Linked DNA regions of Homo sapiens: region 1 is linked to region 2. Evidence: promoter capture Hi-C in human tissues and cell types (Jung and others, 2019). All regions are on one chromosome and are shown on one strand. The core of a region is centred on a gene start or on the middle of the fragment in contact, and the rest is flanking DNA. Distances in the headings are between cores, read along the strand shown. Region 1 has its middle 14 kb from the start of RNASEH2C. Region 2 holds the start of SART1 (spliceosome associated factor 1, recruiter of U4/U6.U5 tri-snRNP).

What was found. The method cuts DNA at HindIII sites, captures the fragments that hold promoters and counts their contacts. A contact is called where the count stands out against the background at its distance.
Region 1: a fragment that was not itself captured here is called in contact with the fragment with the promoter of SART1 in region 2 in 6 of the 25 tissues and cell types used here (IMR-90 fibroblasts, adrenal gland, aorta and 3 more).

What each region holds. Positions count from the first base shown.
Region 1 is chr11:65,731,549-65,738,716 of GRCh38, forward strand. No RefSeq gene overlaps it. Among named protein-coding and RNA genes, the nearest start is that of RNASEH2C, 14 kb to the left of the region's middle. The HindIII fragment of the contact is 9,114 bases long and covers 376-7,168 here.
Region 2 is chr11:65,957,701-65,965,118 of GRCh38, forward strand. SART1 (spliceosome associated factor 1, recruiter of U4/U6.U5 tri-snRNP) reads left to right here and starts at 4,034. Exons shown (of 20, transcript NM_005146.5): 1 at 4,034-4,393; 2 at 6,374-6,431; 3 at 6,815-6,870; 4 at 7,392-7,418. The coding sequence starts at 4,081. It overlaps TSGA10IP (testis specific 10 interacting protein), which reads left to right. Exons shown (of 8, transcript NM_152762.3): 6 at 1,183-1,282; 7 at 1,490-1,614; 8 at 2,117-2,266. The coding sequence ends at 2,240. RefSeq lists an enhancer at 3,892-4,679. The HindIII fragment of the contact is 22,503 bases long and covers 1-7,418 here.

The sequences.
Region 1 (7,168 bases), core at 3,683-6,182, 230 kb before region 2:
TACGTTGTATGTGCTACTTTGTTGAAATCATTTATTAATTCTAACAGTTTTTTTTTTTTGATGTGTGGAACCTTTAGAATTTTCTACATAAAAGATCATATCAGGCCTGAGCCTGGTGGCTTATAACAGTAATCATAGCAAATTGGGAGGCTGGGGTGGGAGAATCACATGAGGCCAGGAGTTTAAGAATGCAGTGAGCCATGATTGTGCCACTGCACTCTAGCCTGGGTAATAGAGTAAGACCCCAACTAAAAAAAAAAGGATCAATGTAATCAGTGAACAGAGATGATTTTACTTCTTCCTTTCCAGTGTGGATGCCTTTTATTTCTTTTTCTTGCCTAATTGCTCTGGCTAGAATGTTCAGTGCTATGTTGAATGGAAATAGTGAAAGCAAGCATCCTTGCTTTGTTCCTGATATTAGAGGAAATGTTTTCAATGTTTCACCATTGAGTATGGTGTTCACTGTGGGTGTTTTATATATGGCTTTTTATTATGGTGAGGGTGTATACTTCTATTTCTAGTTTGTTGAGTGTTTATTTTTATCATGAAAAGGTGTTGAATTTTGTCAAATGCTTTTGCTGTTAGAAGGGGAAGGGTCTGTATACCGAAAACTATAAAACACTGATGAAAGAAATGGAAGGAGGCTGGGCACGGTGGCTCATGCCTGTAATCCCAACACTTTGCGAGGGCCAGGTGGGCGGATCACGAGGTCAGAAGTTCGAGACCAGCCTTTCTAATATGCTGAAACCCTGTCTCTACTAAAAATACAAAAAGTAGCCGGGCATGGTGGCGCATGCGTGTGGTCCTGGCTACTCAGGAGGCTGAGGCAGAAGAATCACTTGAACTCAGGAGGTGGAGGTTGCAGTGAGCTGAGATCGTGCCGCTGCACTCCAGCCTGGGTAACAGAGTGAAACTCCATCTCAAAAAAAAAAAAAAAAAGAAATGGAAGGAAACACATATAAATGCAAAGATATCCCATGTTCATGGATTGGAATAATTAGTATTGTTAAAATGTCCATAGTAACCAAACTACCCAAATCCACAGAATCAATGCAATCCTTATCAAAATTCCAAAGTCTTTTTTTATAAAAAAGAAAAAACAATCCTCAAGTCCACATGGAACCACAAAAGACCCCAAACAGTCAAAGCAATCCTGAGCAAAATAACAAATCTGGAGGCATCATACTCCCTGATTTCAAAATATATTATAAAGTTACTGTAATCAAAATAGCATGGTACTGCCATTAAAAAAAAGATATATCAACACATGGAACAGGATATAATGCCCCCAAAATAAACCCATACATTTATGGCAAATTGATTTTTGACAAAGATGCCAAGAATATACAATTTGAAAAGGATACTCTCTTTAATAAATGGTATTGAGAATGCAGAAGATGAAACTAGACTCTTATCTTACACTATATACAAAAATCAACTCAAAATGGATTAAAGACTTAAATATAAAACAAACTGTAAAACTACTAGAAAAAACATAGAGGAAAAGATCTATGACATTGGTCTGAGCAATGAATTTTTGAAAATGACCCTGAAAGCACAGGCAACAAAAGCAAAAATAGACAAATGGGATGATATCAAACTAAAAAGCCTCTGGGCAGCAAAGGAATCAATTAACAGAGTGGAGACAAAAACAGAATGGGAGAAAATATTTGCAAACCATATATCTGATAAGCAGTTAATATCCAAAATATATAACTCAAACAACTCAATGGCAAGAAAACAAATAACCCAGTGAATTAATGGGCAAAGGACCTGAACAGACATTTCTCAAAATACATATGAATGGCCAAAGGTATATGAAAAAATGCTCAACGTGACTAATCATTAGGGAAATGCAAACCACAATGAGATATCACCTCACATGTGTTAGAATGGCTATTATTAAAAAGATGAGGCTGGGCATGGTGGCTCATGCCTATAATCCTAGCATTCTGGGAGGCCAAGGCAAGCAGATCACCTGAGGTCAGGAGTTCTAGACCAGCCTGACCAACATGGTGAAAACCCATCTCTACTAAAAATTAAAAAAAAAAAAAATTAGCCTGGCATGGTGATGCACACCTGTAGTCCCAGCTACTTGGGAGGCTAATGCAGGAGAATCACTTGAACCCGGGAGGCGGAGGTTGAAGTGAGCGGAGATCTCACTACTGCACTCCAGCCTGGGCGACAGGGTGAAACTGCTTCTCAAAAAAACAAACAAATAAATAAAAATAAGAAAATAAGAAAATAAAAAGATGAAAGAAAAAGTGTTGGCGAGGATGTGGAGAGAAGGGCACTCTTGTACACTGTTGGTAGAAATGTAAATTAGTGCAGCCCTTATATAAAAGAGTATGAAGGTTCCTAAAAAACTCAAAATAGAACTACCATATGATCCAGCAATCCCATTGTTGGGTATATATTTAAAGGAACTGAAATGAATATGTTGAAGAGACATCTACAATCTCATATTCATCACAGCATTATTCACAATAGCCAAGATATGGAATCAACCTATGTGTCCACTGGTGGATGAAAGAATAAGGAAAGTGTGGTGTATATAAAAAACAGAATACTATTCAGCCTTTTTTTTTTTTTCGTAAAAAGGGAATTCTGGCTGGACGCGGTGGCTCATGCCTATAATCCCAGCACTTTGGGAAGCCGAGGTGGGCGGATCACTTGAGGTCAGGAGTTTGAGACCAGCCTGGCCAACTTGGTGAAACTCTGTCTGTACTAAAAATACAAAAATTAGCTGGGCATGGTGGTGCGCACCTGTAATCCCAGCTACTCAGGAGGTTGAGGCACGAGAATCACTTGAACCAGGAGGTAGACGTTGCAGTGAGCCAAGACCATACCACTGCACTCCAGCTTGGGAGGCAGAGTGAAACTGCGTCAAAAAAAAAAAAAAAAAAAAGGAAATTCTATTATTTGCCACAACAGGGATTAACCTGGAGAACATTATGTTCAGTGAAATAAGCCAGGCACAGAGAGACAAATACCACATGATCTCACTTATATGCAAGATCTAAAACTGTCCACCTCATAGCCAGCTGCAGTGGCTCATGCCTGTAATCCCAGTGCTTTGGGAGGCTAACATGAGAGGATTTCTTTTTCTTTTTTTTTTTTTTGAGATGGAGTCTTGCTCTGTTGCCAGGCTGGAGTGCAGTGGCGTGATCTTGGCTCACTGCAACCTCCACCTCCTGGGTTCAAGCGAGTCTCCTGCCTCAGTTTCCTGAGTAGCTGGGACTATAGGCACGTGCCACCACACCCAGCTAATTTTTGTATTTTTAATAGAGACGGGGTTTCACCATGTTGGCCAGGATGGTCTCAATCTCTTGACCTCATGATCCACCCACCTTGGCCTCCCAAAGTGCTGGGATTATAGGTGTGAGCCACTGCACCCAGCTGTGAGAGGATTTCTTGAGGCCAATAGTTTCAGACCAGCCTGGGCAACATAGTGAGACCCCATCTCTACCCCCCCAAAAAAAATTAGTCAGGTGTGGTGATGCACACCTGTAGCTCCAGCTACTGGAGAGGCTGATGCAGGAGGATCACTTGAGCCCAGGAGTTCAAGACTACAGTGAGCCATGATTGTGCCACTACACTCCAGCCTGGGTGGCAGAGTAAGACCCCATCTCTAATACAATACAGTAATATAAAAATGTTGTAGAATGCAAAGTATTGTTCCTGGGTGTGTCTGTGAGGGTGTTGCCAAAGGAGATTAACATTTGAGTCAGTGGACTGGGAGAAGCAGACCCACCCTTAGTCTGGCGTGGCACCATCTAATCAGCTGCCAGCACAGCTAGATTAAAACAGGCAGAAGAACATGGAAGGACTTGACTTGCTGAGCCTTCCGGCTTTCATCTTTCTCCCTTGCTGGATGTTTCCTGCCCTCGAACATCAGACTCCAAGTTCTTCAGCTTTTGGACTCTTGGACTTACACCAGTGGTTTGCAGCTCTCGGGCCTTTGTTCACAGACTGAAGGCTGCACTGTTGGCTTCCCTACTTTTGAGGTTTTGGGTCTTGGACTGGCTTCCCTGATCCTCAGCTTGCAGACAGCCTATTGTGGGACTTCACCTTGTGATCATGTGAATCATTACTCCTCAATAAACTCCCCTTCATATATACATCTATCCTATTAGTTCTGTCCCTTTAGAGAACTCTAATATACCTGTCTAACTGAAACTTTGTACCTTTTGAGCAATATCTTCCCATTTCCCACTCTCCCATGCCCCTAGCCTCTGGTAATCTCTGGATACCTGATCTAAGGGGTCCAACAGGATATTTTCATTTTTCAGGTCATAAGATGGGATGGGTTGAAACCTTGTGCCAGCATCATCTTTATGTGGAATCTAGAAGACATAAACTTAAGTAGGAGGTCAACAGGAAAATTATAATTTGGAGGATGAGAAAATTAATGCATCTATGCCCATGGCATCATGTTTTTTATCTTTGTGTTTGTGAAACAACAGCTTTAAGTCTTATAGGAGCTCACAGGTGTAAATCATGGTGTCCTCCTCTTATGCCGTCAGGGATTCATAAGAAACAGATTTAATCTTGGACAGGTGTACCCAACTAGTGATTCCCTGAAGTTTAACAGCAGGGAAGGTACTTAACAATACCTGATAGGGGCTCTTCCATTTGGGTTGTAATTGATCCTCTGGGGATCCTTTTTAACAAAAAGTTTTTTGTAAGACTAGGTGTTCAGGTTGAACAGAGGAGCTATTTCTTTCCTATGTGGGAAAGGGAAGTACTTTGTTATTATAATTTTTGAAGGGCCTTTGTGCCTAGCCTAAATTCTAAGGGGTGGCACAGTGAGGCATGTTTGGCCCCCTGTTTCCTGTCATGGTCTGACTTCTTTTTTTTTGAAGGCTTCTTTGGAATTCCCTTTGGCTAAGGGACTTAGAGTCAAAAGACTTATAGCCAATTAAACATCCTAGGTCAGAAGGAAATGGAGGTGAGCAGGCACTCATTTGCCCTTAAAATCTTTTAAAGCAATATAAGAGTCAAAAACTAAATGCCAATAATAAGGTTATATGTAAAAAAAAAAAAAAAACAGCATAGAATCAAGCTATATTCGGGGAAAACACTGTTTTCGCAGACCTCTAAGACAAAACATTTTAGTACCAGGGCCCAATAGTCAGAACCAGAGGAAAAAAAGTCACAATGTTGATGAAAAGGTTGATGGAAAGAGCCATCATCCCAGGCCTTCTTAAAGGGAGAAAGAATTGAAAGTAGTGAGACACAACAACAGTTGAATCTCTGAGACATGAATCCAAGACATTTTAAAATAAACCAGGTAGATTATTAAAAGCAAAACTTCCTGTAATTTAGCAAATCAATACCTTAAGAAAACCTGTTGCCAATATATAGACCATTCTCTAGAAAGTCTACCACAGTTTTCCTTTAGTCATAGTCAGCTTAAGCTTAATCATACACAAAATTCCCCTTCACAAACCCCATCATGACCCACATGGACCATCTACAACATGCTTGGACTTTCTGACTTGTCCTATAGGACCCCTTCCTTAAAGAACTCATCATTTTACTCTAGGATAAGAATTTACTACACAAGATCCCTCCTCATATAAAATAACTTTGTATTCTTCCTTGTATCCTTCTTTATATCCTTCCTTGTATCCTTCTTTGTATTCTTCCTTGCAAAAAGTACATCTATCCATAACTTTCTTCATATCTCTCTTTTCTACTTACTGGTTCCTTCATATTTTGAACCTCTCTTTTAATAACTTCCAAATTAGACAAAAATTATTATTTTTCCCAATAAAAAACACACTTTCTTTGGCTTATTTTATATAAATCTAAAGAGCAAGAAATTCTGAACTGCTCATCAGACATTGGCACTCTATAGATGAGAACTATTTCACAGCTTTAAGATTTTCAACTATACATAAGCTCACTGTTTAAAAGCCATCCTAACCATTCTAAAGGCTACAAACATCAGAGGTTCATCTAGGTAAAAATCTTAAAGTTAAATTTTAGAAGACATAACATTCCCTTCAAACTAATAAATTTAGACTAGTCTTATTTTTTAATTTATGAATTCTCTTTTATTTATAAGCCAATTTGATAGTATGCTAAACACAACACCCATCACACAAATGAAGTGACCTACACAAGACAGATGGATCCAAGTTACTTATAAAATTGGGACCTGTCTATCTCAATACATTTTGTTTGCCCAGATACGTAGGGAAGACAGGAAGAGGCAGAGAAGGGACCCCATAGCATCAAATAAGGAAGGGAGGTGGTAAACCATGTTGCTCAAGGGGAGGTCTCAGAGTCCTTGAGCTACCAGAGCATCTAGCAGTGGAGACACCAAAGAAAAATGTTCTGGTGGCCACTTGTCTTCCACTGCAAAAAGCTGTCCATTGGGTCAAGGGTCCAGGAATCTGAGTAAATTTACTTGAGCAAGGTGGCTCATTGGGACATATGGAAGAAGGTTAGTTCTAATATTGACGGGGAGCTTTTTCCCTCGTTTGCTGGGGATGGTTAGGACATTCTCATTGTGAATGGTCCTTTTGCTTATAGTAGGCACATTGATTCTGGACCAGGAGCCAGTGAGTTGGGGGCTCTCATCTGGGCATCCCAGATGGTGATCTTGTGACACTTTCTCAGGATAGGTAATTCTAAGGTGGCAGGGGACTTAAAGTAACAGCTAACAATTGCACTTTTTGGCTATTTCTTTTCTTTTTTGAGACAGGGTCTCACTCCAGTTGCCCAGGCTGGAGTTGCAGTGCATTATCTCAGCTTACTGCAGCCTCAACCTCCTGGGCTCAGGTGATTCTCCCACCTCAGCCTCCTCAGTATCTAGGACCACAGGCATACACCACCATGCACAGCGAATTTTTTGTATTTTTAGTAGAGACAGAGTTTCATCATGTTGCCTGGGCTAGAGCTGTTTCTTTTGTCTTTTTTTTTTCAACTCTTTTTCCCTGTCCCTATTGTTGTAAATTTTAAAGGCCAAGTTTAAATATTGGCTCATAGGGGTTTGAGCTTCCATTGTTGCTTTTTGTAGCTTCCTCCTAATGTCAGGGGCAACTTGAGTAATAAAATGCATAACCAGAAGAGTTTGCCTTCTGGGAAGTCTGGGTCTGCGTTAGTGTATTTCCTGAGTGCCTCAACCAAACAACTTTGAAACAGAGTGGGATTTTCA
Region 2 (7,418 bases), core at 2,784-5,283:
GGTCCCAGTACAGGTCTTGGGGTCTTGTCTGTGTCTCCCCTCCCCTCCTGTCCTCTTGTCTGCGTCTTCCCTCCCCTCCTGTCCATGGGTGCTGCCTCCACACCTCAAGGCCTCTCTTACATGCTTCACAGATGGATGCCTGGTCCCATGTGGGTGTGGCTCGAAGGTCCCTCTTGCTGCTAGAGTGCTCTCTTCATGAGTGGCAGTGATACTCAAGTTTGTCAAACAGACACATTTCTGACAAGTGCACAAACTGGGTTTTGGGTTTTTTGAGACAGGGTCTTGCTCTGTTGCCCAGGCTGGAGTGCAGTGGCACAATCTCAGCTCACTGTAGCCTAGACCTCCGAGGCTCAAGCGATCCTCCCACCTTGGCCTCCCAACTACCCAGGACTACAGGTGCATACCACCATGTCTGGCTAATTTTTGTAGAGACAGGATTTCACCATGTTGCCCAGTCTGGTCTCAAACTCTTGGGCTCAAGTGATCCACCCTCCTTGGCCTTCCAAAGTGCTGGGATTACAGGTGCGAGCCACCACGCCTGGCCAAATTGGGTTTTTATAAATGAAAATTGTGCTTCCCCAGTGGAACCCTGATCTCTCAGGGGTGTGTTTTTTAAATTTGAAACATATTTTTTTTTAGTTTCTCTGTCCCATTTTCCAAGCTGTCTGCTTACAAGAACCACAGAGAATGCTGGCAAGCTTGTCCGATCCCTACTATAGCACAGTGAAATAAACTGAGCCCAGAGCCAAGAGCCCAGAGAGAGGCCTCACCCAAAGTCACACAACCAACAACCACAGCTCCCCCTCAAGGGAAAGAGGATGGGGAGGGGAAGCTATGTAAGCACGTGTCTGGAAGCTCAGAAGCCAGCACTGGCCCCTTTCCCATGGGGCTGGCACAGGAGGATGGGCAAGCCCCAGCTGCACAGGGCTCGGCCCCTCACTTCCCAGCTGCACAACTTTGAACAAGTCCCTCAACCCTCCCGATCCATCCGTAAATTGGGTGAATAATTTCCACCTTGGCTGACTTCACAAGGAATCCAGGCAAGAATGGGAATGAAATAGCTTTGTAAAGGTGAGGGTGAGGACATGAATATCAAGTCCTTAGTGAAGATAAGCGGGCTCAGGAATGGAGATCAACAGTTGTGTCCATGGTTAGCTGCACAAAGGCCTGTCTCCCCTGCAGGCGCCAGGAGCGACAGCGCTTTGCTGAGTACCAGGCGGAGCTGCAAGGCATCCAGCACAGGGTGCAGGCCCGGCCCTTCCTGTTCCAGCAGGCTATGCAGGTGAGGCTGGCACCTGGGCAAGCACATAGCTGCCCCCTGTGAAGAGCTGGCTGAGTGGGTAGGGAAGCAGGATGCGAGTAGGTCCCTGCAGATAGGATCCCAGGGCTGCTGCCCTCTGGAATCCCTGGGACCCCCTCAGTAACCCGATCCCCACCTTGCCCTCGGCAGCCCTGGTGCAGAGCAGGAAGCCGTCTTCTCTCTCCTCAGGCCAATGCCCGGCTCACCGTCACTCGGCGCTTCTCCCAGGTGCTGTCAGCACTGGGGCTGGATGAGGAGCAGCTGCTGTCTGAGGCAGGAAAGGTGGACAGAGAGGGCACCCCCAGGAAACCCAGGTGAGTCTCCCCGTCAGGTCAAGAACTGACTCTGCCATGCTGCTGCGGGAAGGGGCGCCCACACCAGCACTCTGGGCTCTGGAGGGCCTCCCCCAGGACAGGCAGAGAGCCCAGAGGAAGGCAAGGCCAGGGTTGTCATTCCTACTTCTCAATGAGGAAACTAAGGACCTGAGGGGAAGGGCCTTCTTTAAGGACGCAGGAGCGAACAAGCAGCAGAACCAGTCTGGGACTCTGCAACCATCTGAGCGGCCACACACCAAGTCCCTCATTAGGGGCTGGCACCACCACGCTGGTCACCCCATGCCTTAGAATAACCTGGTACAGAGCAGCGATTATGAAGCCCACTTGACAATAAGGAAAGTGAGACTCGAGAAGAGTCACTTTGCCCAGGATCACACAGCAAGCCGGCACTGAAGCAGGGTTTGAAGCCACATTGTCAGTGGTTTCCTTGGGCATGGGGGTGGGAGCTGCAGAGTCAGGGGCCTCTATCTGTGTCTTGAAGGAGCCACAGGTCAATGGGGGTGAGAATGGAGCACTCTCCTCAGAGGCCCCCAAGGACAGAACCCACCGGCAGCCAGCCTGACAGGCACTACAACCCCAGCCTGGACCCGGAGTGCAGTCCCTGAGATAAAATTAAAGGCTTTATGGCAAACACAGTATGAGATTTCTGGTGGTGGGGGTGGTGGAAGCTACGGGTTGGAAGTTGGAGGTGGCAGGTGGGTGGGCAGCAGGCTTAGCTCTGTCCCCGCACCCCCTCCCCACCAGGAGCTTTGGCTCTTTTGGTTCCCCCCACCCAGTACACACAGCCCCTTCTCTGCTCCTGAGGAGTGGGGACATCTCAAAGAGCAAGAGCTGTGACTTCTCCACCCCATCTCCAATGTATATGTTGGGTCCTATAAATTCAAGCATGAATAAGATGAAATGACTCCTGCCTCTGAGGACGCCCAGTGAGTGGGAGAGGGGGTGGATCCTTAAAGGGGCGCATACAACATAGCCTAACACATGCTGAGTTGTGCCACACAGGGAGCCACAGACTGAGCAACCACTGGGTGAGGGGAGGGGTTTCAGGAGAGATTGGGATTGTGTGCACTGCGCTTTTTTTTTTTTTTTTTAAGACAGAGTCTCGCTCTGTCACCAGGCCGGAGTGCAATGGTGTGATCTCAACTCACTGCAACCTCTGCCTCCCAGGTTCAAGCGATTCTCCTGCCTCAGCCTCCTGAGTAGCTGGGACTACAGGTGTGCGCCACCACACCCAGCTAATTTTTGTATTTTTAGTAGAGACGGGGTTTTACCATGTAGGCCAGGATGGTCTCGATCTCTTGACCTCGTGATTCGCCTGCCTTGGCCTCCCAAAGTGCTGGGATTACAGGCGTGAGCCACCGCGCCCGGCCTGCACTGGGGTTTTAAGTCCCAATAGTTTTAAGTTAGGGCTGGTCTCCTCAAGAAAAAAACTCATACACACAGATGTGCCACATTTTGCATTCAATTTCAGGGGTTCCAGGGATACACTGACGCCCATGTGGAGCTCCTAAACAATCTTAACAGTTCACGGGGCCAGGTTTTAAAAATCCAATCCAGGGCCAGGCGCAGTGGCGCATGCCTGTAATCTCAGCACTTTGGGAGGCCAAGGCGGGTGTATAGCCTGAGCTCAGGAGTTCGAGACCAGCCTGGCCAACATAGTGACCCCACCCCCTACCCCCGCTCCCCACCAACCATCTACAAAAAAATACAAAAATTAAAGGGGCGTGGTAGCGTACTCTCGTAGTCCCAGCTACTGGGAAGGCTGAGGTGGGAGGATCACTTGAGCCCAGGAGGTCGAGGCTGCAGTGCGCTGTGATCACGCCACTGCACTCCAGCCTGAGCAACAGAGTGAGATCCTATCTCAAGGGAAAAAACAAAACAAAACAAAACAGGGAACGTGGGAAGGAAGCGTTCCCTGACGATACTGGTTATAGCGGGTCTGAAGCTGGGCTGTGGAATTGGAGATCTCGGGAAAACAACACCCGTTGGAGCCACGACCCTAGGAGTCCACTAAGCGAGCGCCCATTGTAGGAGGGAGGTGTCTACGGAAAGACCGTGAGGTAGTGAACACCCCGTTGCCGGTGAAGTGCAAGCGCAGGGAGGCCGGGGAGGAACTTAAAGCCACGAAGACACTGACTTAATGGGCTCTAAGTCCTTCCAGTTCTGGGATCCCACCTCCGGGTTAATTCCGCTTCCCTTGAGGAGCGCATGCGCAATGGGACCACTCGCTCAAAGAACCCACCCGACCCGAGACGGCGCGAATGTGCAGTCGAGCGCTGATCCCGGCCTTCCCATGAGCCTCTGGGGCAGGCTCCAAGGCGAGCGACGGAAGCAGCCGCTCTTAGTTTCCGGCAACACGACAGCGGCTGCCGAGCGACCCGGAAGTATTCCCATTTTGCGTTGTCTGGGCTCGGCGGCAGCCGGGCTCGGAGTGGACGTGCCACTATGGGGTCGTCCAAGAAGCATCGCGGAGAGAAGGAGGCGGCCGGGACGACGGCGGCGGCCGGCACCGGGGGTGCCACCGAGCAGCCGCCGCGGCACCGGGAACACAAAAAACACAAGCACCGGAGTGGCGGCAGTGGCGGTAGCGGTGGCGAACGACGGAAGCGGAGCCGGGAACGTGGGGGCGAGCGCGGGAGCGGGCGGCGCGGGGCCGAAGCTGAGGCCCGGAGCAGCACGCACGGGCGGGAGCGCAGCCAGGCAGAGCCCTCCGAGCGGCGCGTGAAGCGGGAGAAGCGCGATGACGGCTACGAGGCCGGTGAGGAGGCGGGGCCTGCGCAGGGGGCGGGTCGGGCGGGGGTCCCGGAACGCGTGGGTCTGGGTGTGCGCGCAGTGTCAGCGAAGCTCTTCAGGCCAGGAAACCCCCAAGCTGTTTACCAGCTCTATTAAATAGTCTTTCTACGGGATCCCTTGAGCCCAGGAGTTAGAGGCTGCAGTGAGCTGCGGTCCCGCCAGTGTACTCCAGCCTGGGCAACAAAGCGAGACTCTGTCTCAAAAAGAAAAAAGTCTTTCTACGGTTGTTTAGGATTAGAGGTTGACTTTCTCCACTCAGCTGCTTGAGGACAGAGGGCTTCTGTTTTCCTCAGTTGTCTGGTACAATCAGATTCTCAATAAATATGTTGAATGAGTGAATGAAGTAGTGTCAGCATATACAGAGGCAAGAAAAACCTGGTATTGGACGAATCGTGTAGGGCGCATGGTAGAGAAATGAGGGAGTAAGATAGACAGGGATGTGAACACAAAGGACCCTGTACTGTAGTCTCTGTTAAGAACTGTAGATTGTCTTGAGGATAGTAGGGAGCCATGGATGTGAGTTGAGGAGTGAGTTGCTCAGATCCGTATTTTGTAAACATCACTGGATTGAGAATTTAGTCAAAGGTAGTCAGGACTGGAGACCAGGAAACCAGGAGGGCTATAGGCCAGGGGAGGGCTGATGGTGGCCTGCACCAAGGCAGCAGCAGTGGGATTGAGAGAAGTGGACAGGTTGGAGAGGTGTTTTGGAGGAGGAATGAACAGAACTCAGCACTTGTATGAGGGTGGGAAGAAGGAATGGAGGATGACTCCTTGAATTTTGGCTTGAGCAGCCAGATAGGTAGTGGGTGTCATTTCTACTGAAATTGAGGAGTAGGGAAGAGAAGCAGATTTGGAGCGGGGGTGGGGGGAGATAGTTCACTTTTGGGGTTGTCAAGGTTGATGGTAATGGGGAAATCCAGAGTTTGGACTGGATAAAGCCATTGGGAGTCAGTATCTGGGTGGCCAGTGAAGCCCCTGAAAGACTGTGACATGAGAAGAGGGGGTCAGGACTAGAACCTGAGAAATGCCCTTATGTTAGTAGTAGGCAGAGAAAGATGTTACCAAAAAAAGGAGACAGAGTAACCAAAAAGGCAGGAAAACCTTTGTGTCATGGGAACTTTGGGAAGAGAGTATTGTTAGAAGGAGGGAGCGATCAGCAGTCCCACATACCACAGGAGATCAAGCAAAACCAGAACCGAAAAGAACCCACTAGATTTAGAAACGAGGAGGCTGGTGACCTTGGGGAGCCTGGAGAGGTTGGGATCCATGGCCCAGGTGGAGAGAGAAGCCTTTAAGATAAAGGAGAAGGTAGGATGCAGGATGGGAATGCAGGAAAGGAAGAGTTTTTTTTTTGTTTTGTTTTGTTTTTTTGAGACAAAGTCTTGCTCCATTGCCCAGGCTAGAGTGCAGTGGCACGATCTCAGCTCACTGCAAGCTCTGCCTCCTGGGTTCAAGCAATTCTCCTACCTCAGCCTCCCGAGTATCTGGGATTACAGGTGCGCACCACCGTGCCTGGCTAATTTTTATATTTTTAGTAGAGACGGGGTTTCACCATCTTGGCCAGGCTGGTCTTGAACTTCTGACCTCGTGATCCATCTGCCTCGGCCTCCCAAAGTGCTGGGATTACAGGCATGACCCACCATACCCGGCCCAGACCTTGTCTGTTAAAAATGAAAGAAAAAAGTAGAGGGCAGAGTGGTGACTACAGCAGTTTGGATGTCTTGGGTCAGGAAAGGAAGGTGCACAGAAGAGGCAGGGCTCTGAGACTGGACTCGGGCAGAGGAGCTGCTGGGGAGCTTGGGTGGAAGAAGCTGCTGTTTTCTGGTGTTTCAGCAGGCCCAGGTGCTGGTGAGGGGCCCTCATTTTTGTTCCTGCAGCTGGAGCCAACGATGCTGGCTTCTTGGCCCTGTGTTCAGCTCCTGAGCCATGCTTCTTCTTGTTCCAGCTGCCAGCTCCAAAACTAGCTCAGGCGATGCCTCCTCACTCAGCATCGAGGAGACTAAGTGAGTACTGTCTCCCTTGTTTCTACTTTGTTTTTCTAAGAGAGGTGGCTCTGGGGCCAGCACGGGGGAGGCTTTCTCACATGAAAGTGTGCTAATCAGAGTTGGAAAGATTGTTTAAATCATCTTAGCCAACAGTTGACTTATAGAAGAGAAAACTAAAACCTAAGAGTAAAGTGGCATTCACTGGTTAGACGCAGACCAGGCTGGTGCCCATGTTTCCTGCTTTGGAGGCCAGGGCCCTTCCCAGTGTCCTAGGCTGCCTGGGGCAGACTTTGTGTTTGGGACCACTCACTCCCACCCTGTTTCTCCTCTTGTCTGTCTGGAAATGCACATGGCACCCTGTGTCTTTAATAGCCCCTAACACTTGTATCTCTTGTTGTCAGCAAACTCCGGGCAAAGTTGGGGCTGAAACCCTTGGAGGTTAATGCCATCAAGAAGGGTGAGTATGGGGCTGAGGATAGGGTTTGGGGGAAAGAGGCCATCTGAAGGGGTCTTTGAAGAAGGTGGGGTTAGAGGGCAGGTTCAGCACTGTTTAGTGGTCTTACACATGCATATTTGCCGGAAGGCATGAGGTCCCTCCTTGCTGGTATAATGGGGATCTGGGGCTCCGCCTGCTCTCTGAGTTGGAGCTGTGGCCGTCGCATACTCACTCTGGCTGTGAGTTGTTAGATGGACTGGAAGATGTGCACACTTGCTGCAGACTGCGCTGTGCGGGGGTGGGTTTCTTGTTTTTCTTTAAAGCACGATTTGAGGGGCTTTGGAAGCCACAGAGGGTCCTGTTGTGCTGCATGGGTTGGCCAGGAGTGTGGGGACGAAGTGGGAGCAGGGAGGTGAAGGATTGTTCCTTCCTGTCCTGACCCCTTCTGGCCCCCTGAGCTGGAAGGGGGCAGGGTGAGTGGCTCCCTCCTCTCCCCACCAGCCATGGGCGGGCATAGCCTCACGTCTGGGCCCCCCTTCCAGAGGCGGGCACCAAGGAGGAGCCCGTGA